2 separate regions of the Homo sapiens genome follow, and region 1 is linked to region 2. The links are contacts of gene promoters, found by promoter capture Hi-C in blood cells and fetal thymus (Javierre and others, 2016). All regions are on one chromosome and are shown on one strand. The core of a region is centred on a gene start or on the middle of the fragment in contact, and the rest is flanking DNA. Distances in the headings are between cores, read along the strand shown. Region 1 overlaps TPR (translocated promoter region, nuclear basket protein). Region 2 holds the start of TOR1AIP1 (torsin 1A interacting protein 1).

Evidence for each region. The method cuts DNA at HindIII sites, captures the fragments that hold promoters and counts their contacts. A CHiCAGO score of 5 or more calls a contact.
Region 1: a fragment that was not itself captured here is called in contact with the fragment with the promoter of TOR1AIP1 in region 2 in 1 of 17 cell types (naive CD8 T cells); the score reaches 6.0 in naive CD8 T cells.

Annotation. Positions count from the first base shown.
Region 1 is chr1:186,342,719-186,345,589 of GRCh38, forward strand. It overlaps TPR (translocated promoter region, nuclear basket protein), which reads right to left. Exons shown (of 51, transcript NM_003292.3): 24 at 2,862-2,871; 25 at 1,657-1,860; 26 at 1,188-1,372; 27 at 608-755. Among named protein-coding and RNA genes, the nearest start is that of TPR, 31 kb to the right of the region's middle. RefSeq lists an enhancer at 798-1,997. The HindIII fragment of the contact is 1,456 bases long and covers 592-2,047 here.
Region 2 is chr1:179,880,659-179,883,737 of GRCh38, forward strand. TOR1AIP1 (torsin 1A interacting protein 1) reads left to right here and starts at 1,627. Exons shown (of 10, transcript NM_015602.4): 1 at 1,627-2,319. The coding sequence starts at 1,845. It overlaps LOC139427322, which reads left to right and starts at 1,658. Exons shown (of 1, transcript NM_001436163.1): 1 at 1,658-1,735. The coding sequence starts at 1,658. The coding sequence ends at 1,735. RefSeq lists enhancers at 993-1,531, 1,444-1,553, 1,532-2,069, 1,574-2,333, 1,896-2,190 and 1 more. The HindIII fragment of the contact is 5,266 bases long and covers 714-3,079 here.

The DNA.
Region 1 (2,871 bases), core at 70-2,569, 6.5 Mb after region 2:
TACTGTAGCTCCTAAGAATGAAGTAACTCAACAATAAGCTTTGGGTGGTAGTGTGGGGTAAGGAGTCAAGCTTGTCTTATTATCATCCATTTCACTACCACAGCTTCTTTTCCTTTGGTTGTTAGTTTTTACTACTTTTTGCTCCTTGGGTGAGAAAGATATTCTGTAGCAGTTTAAATCACTTTATCCTAGAATGACTATCCACACGTATAATCCATAACTATAATAAATTAAGATAGCTGGAATTTATTAAGCACCCACTACATACCAGACATGCTTCTAAATGCTTCATGTGCACAAACTCAATTAAACCTCATTATTATCCAAATATTACAGATGAAGAAACTAAGAGCAGGGAAGTTAAACAATGTACCCAAGGCCACAGCTAATGGTATGAAGCTAGAATCTGAAACCAGGCAGTTTGGTTACAGAGCCTTTACTTTTAAGCACTATACTATATTAGTGTTTAACAAATGCTTAATGAATTTACAAGTTTAGAAGAATGCTTACTTCAAGTTAAATTTTACATTACGTTAAATGGTAGAGATATAAATGAGTGCTTCTCTTTTGATTTAACAAGTGCTTTCTTAAAGCTTAGTATACCTACCTGGACTTTCTCCCTTTCAGCATTTAGACTATCTTGCAGTTCCTGCAGCTCTCTTTCTAAAAGTTCAACCCTTTGTCGATAACGCAGACTCTCAACCTGAGCCACCTCAAACCTAGTTTCAGCAATTTCTTTTTCTCGTCGTATAAATCTACAAAAATACAGATATTAAAATTTTATGTGAATTTTAAAAAGCCAACATTACAAAACGTAGGTAATTTGGTAAGATGACAAAAATCATTGACTTTAATAACTATTACACGTTTTCATTAATAATAAATAATAATGGGAGATGTATTTCTATTTTCTTTTATAGACACTGGCTTTAGAATGTTTATCTCTAAAATGATCTGAAAGGCATTTAGTTTTTCAAGAGAAAACTGCTCTAGTTCTTACTATCAGATTCAACTTTAAAGTCACTTGTTTAATATGTGTAAATGTTAAAAGTTATGAGTTCTTTGACAAATAAAAGAATGAACTTTATATCAAAATCGTGTATAATCTCCTTCTCTAATTTATATATTTGTAGTTTCATTTCATAGTTGTTATACCACAGAAATGAAGCAGTAAGAACATGATTTACCTGAGAATTTCCAAAATTTGTTCTTGAGATTTTCCTTCTTCACTGAGAGATACATTCAGTGGACCTTGTACACCTTCCTTCACAGAGGCAACGACCTTGTCACTTAATTTTTCGATCTGATCATGAAGTAATCTGTTTTGTTTCTCCAGATCTTCACAGCGACATACACATTTGGAAACTTCATCCTGCAAGCCAAGAGTCTATCAGAATAACAGATTTTCCAATGCATATTTAAAAAAAACAACTTGGCCAGGCGCGGTGGCTAACGCCTGTAATCCCGACTACTTGGGAGGCTGAGGCAGGAGAATTGCTTGAACCCAGCAGGTGGAGATTGCAGTGACCCCAATATCACGCCATTGCACTCCAGCATGGGTGACAGAGCGAGGCTCCATCTCAAAACATTATAAAATAAAGAAAAAAACAACTCTTTCAATTCAACAGAACATTCTATTCAGATTTACAATAATACCTTTAACATTCTCTCTCTTTCCTCCCAAGATGCTTTACACTCCAACAACTGTGATTCTGCTTTCTGTGTTGTTTCTTCCAAATGCTGACGGACTGATGCCATTTTTGAAACCTGCTCCTTCGCAGCTTGTAGAGCTTCAACATCAGCAGCATGCAGCATCAATTCTCTCTCATACTTATTCTGAGCTTCCACAGCTATTTTAGCCTATAAGAAATTATTACCCAATTGATACCAAAGATTAAAAATCCATAAAACTAGTTAGCACTTGTCCAAAGATACACATTGGACTTTTTAAATAATAAAAGTAAAGACAATCTAAATGTAGCAAAATAAGAAAATAATTAAAAGTTAATGCTTTAGTTACTTAATATTATAAAACTGTCAGAAATGAAGCTTAGAAGACCAGCAATTTGGACAAACTTTTTGATATAAGAAGCTAAACATAACTCAGCTATATTAAGTACTAAATTATAGATCCATTGATTTTAATGAAATTTACTTTGAAGCATTTCTTCCCTGTATTACATTTTAAAATAGCAATATACACGTCACATATATATAGGCAATAAAGAATAGTAAGCAAATGAATAGCTATTAACATGACACCCAACTTAAAATAAGAACATTACCAATATGCTCAAATGTACTGCTATCCCATCCTACCATTTTAGTAACTCTGAATCCTGAATTGTTTTATCATTTCCTGTTCATAAAAAAATTATAAAAAGCTTCAATACTGTGTGCACATACATACATACACTCAAAATAATGATACTTTTTTAACATTTTATAAATAGTATATAGATATCTGCGCAAACTTGGTAATGCATTAACAATGTTATCAAGAGGTTCTTGTTTTGTTAGCAAAGGTTGCCTCTAATCAACTGTATCTGTAATTTTATAATCAGATCTAGTGAAGGACAATAGTAAAATAATTTTTGCAAATGAGAGCCAAGTACAAATTTTAGTCTCCTAGTCCTGTTTTTATTTTCCCATTGTCAAGATTGCTTTGTTAATGAATATTGCCCTATGTATTTATTTTTAGCCTTCCATCTATACTTTTCAATTTGTCTTGTCTAAGTTCCACAAAAGTGGAAATTATCTTGAATTTTTGTAAGGTCCACCAGTTCTTATAATGCATAAATATACTTCAAGAATCATTCTCTAGGATCGAAGCTCATTTCTCAATAATTGGCTATACTTACTTGTTCCTGA
Region 2 (3,079 bases), core at 377-2,876:
AGAAAAGAAAGAAAGAAGTCTCTCTTTTGTTACTGCAGTTTTTAAAAGCTATATTGTACATAAAGCTACAGTAAACTAAGCTCCTAACAGGCCAAACCTTATCTCACTCTAAAACTGTAATTCCTCCTGCCTGTGGCCAAATTTATGGACAATATTAGTAAAAACATAGTACACAGTCGGGCAGGGTGGCTCACGCCTGTAATCCCAGCACTTTGGGAGGCCGAGAGGCGGATCACGAGGTCAGGAGATCGAGACCATCCTGGCTAACACGGTGAAACCCTGTCTCTACTAAAAATACAAAAAAATTAGCCGGGCGTGGCGGCATGCGCCTGTAGTCCCAGCTGCTGGGGAGGCTGAAGCAGGAGAATGGCGTGAATCCGGGAGGCAGAGGTTGCAGTGAGCCGAGATCGCGCCACTGGACTCCAGCCTGGGTGACAGAGCAAGACTCCGTCTCAAAAAAAATAAAATAAAAATAAAAATAAAATAAAAACATAGTACACATTACGACTTAAGTAGTTGAAATTTGTGCCAAGTTTGAGCAACAAATGAGTTGCTCAAAAACATTTTAAGGTGATTACTTGGAAGAATAAACAAACACCTTCAAACTTTTCAGAATCGCTCATTGTAACTGGTATCCAAATTACAATTTTTTAAATCTATTCACTCCAATCATACAAAGCCCTACAAGCAGTTGTATATTTGAAGGCAATTTAAGCTTTCTTTCAATAATTATTCAGACTTTACACGAACTTAATCGACCTTCTCTGAATGTGTCTAAATTTGGTTAGGTATTTGCAGATTAGCCACATCTGTAAACATTTGTATAAGGAGGTGAAACAAATAGATTTTACCATGCTTTCTTATTCCATAAAGTCCATAAAGCATTCTAAATCAAATGTAGAGTATCACGTCACATCCAGAATAAAAGTAAAAATAATGGATCACAACTTAAAATTACAGTGCTGTCTTTAATTAAAAAACTTGTTCATTTCTCACTGTGCACAATGTAGCACTAACATGGTCTTCCGAACACTGCTGCTTGGTATAAAACCGAGAAATATTAAAGACCAGGAATAAGGTTATGTGTCCTATGGGTACATTTCGGAAAAGAAAATACATCCAACGAGTATGACTCTAGATAGGATTTTGTACACCCTCAACAAGTGACAAAATTCAAAACTAGGTAACCGCCCTCATAAGGTACTTGAAACTAAAATTTTTGCCACGAAAACATGGCATGTGCAAAAGTTCTCTCTCTGGCCATCACTCCTGCTAAGGACACTGGGAAGGACATGGTCAACGTAGCAGTCGATCAAAAAGATTCCAGGGAAACTGCGCAACAGCCTGGGGCCGAGAAGCGAAACTTGGGTCTTCTCCACCCTCGTCGCACTCCTTTTCCCCGAGACTTGGTACTGGGAGATAGGACGGGAGTCTCCTACACGCAGTCAACACTTGCCACGAGCGGCTAGACTTAGGACAGGCAAGTTGCCCTGCCATCCTTCTATCGCCCCCACCCCTCCTTTACTTAAGGGCGATGGCAGAGACGTCCTCCTCCCCCTTCTCCTCCTCTTTGGTGCCTCCAGCCAGGAGGCGGGAGCGATCCACAGCAGCTGACCCAGCTCAGGCACTGCCTCTCTCACAGCCCTCAAGACACACCATGGGCCCAGAGGCAGGTTTGCTACACAGCAGCGACGACGCAGGCGGCGGCCCCAGCGACTCGCAACTGCCTCCCTGACCACAGCGGCCACCGCCCAACACCCCCGAGAAGCCATCGCCACCACCGGCAGGAGAACCTAGGGTCCATAAAGCCATCTTCGCGATCGACTAAAGCTACGTCAACAACTATGGCGGGCGACGGGCGGCGGGCAGAGGCGGTGCGGGAAGGATGGGGTGTGTACGTCACCCCCAGGGCCCCCATCCGAGAGGGAAGGGGCCGGCTCGCCCCTCAAAATGGCGGCAGCAGCGATGCGCCTGCGTACAGAACTCCTCCGTCGCGCCAGGGCCGGCGGGAAGTGAGGTTCTCGGACGAGCCGCCAGAAGTGTACGGCGACTTCGAGCCCCTGGTGGCCAAAGAAAGGTCCCCGGTGGGAAAACGAACCCGGCTAGAAGAGTTCCGGTCCGATTCTGCGAAAGAGGAAGTGAGAGAAAGCGCGTACTACCTTCGGTCTAGGCAGCGGAGGCAGCCGCGACCCCAGGAAACCGAGGAAATGAAGACGCGAAGGACTACCCGCCTTCAGCAGCAGCACTCAGAGCAGCCTCCGCTACAGCCGTCTCCTGTTATGACCAGGAGAGGGCTGCGGGACTCTCATTCCTCTGAAGGTGAGGACCGCGGAGGTAACAGTCCCAGCCGCGAGCCAGGGAACGCGCGGGGGCGGGCGCGCGCCTCGGTGGAGCTCATGCCCGCCTGGGTACTAAGTACTGGGATTGGCTAAAGGGTATTCCTCAGCCCCCTCTGGACTTGTGCCGCCGTGCAAGGGCCACCCTGACCCGCAGCGGGGAAGGAAGCGCCGACCGGAGGAGTGGAAAGATGGTCGTGTGGAGCGACCCGGGCAGGGCTGGGGCGCTCTGCCCAACATCGGGCATCAATTTAGGGGAGTCAGAGCTGCCTTTTTCTGCAGGCCTTCACGAGGGGACAGCGAATTACTGCAGGGTCGGTTTCATTTCGGTTCCCTCTACCCTGCGGATGTTTCTACAGAAACCACTTCCATTTCCTTCTTTAACGCTCGCGGGCCAGAGTCCCCAGCTGAGGATCTAACCTTTCAGTCTTTTTCCCTCCTCACCCAGGTGGGCAGAGAGGAAGGAGAAATTTTGTGAGTGGGCATTTCGAGGGATTGCTGAGTTTAGTGAATTGATTTGAGACCTCACCCAATACTTTCACCGAAATGGGGTAACTCATTTTTCCTGAACTGATGTTCCCCAGTGTTTGATAACTTGAGCTGATTGCTGTTTCTCCAGTGTGGTGGTCCCTGCCAAAAATCTGCCACTTTGGTGGCCGTCACTGTAACCTCAAGTAGTCTGGCAAATCAGACTGACAAAGTAACCTGAAAAACAAGACTATTAATTAGAGTTTTCGTCTAAA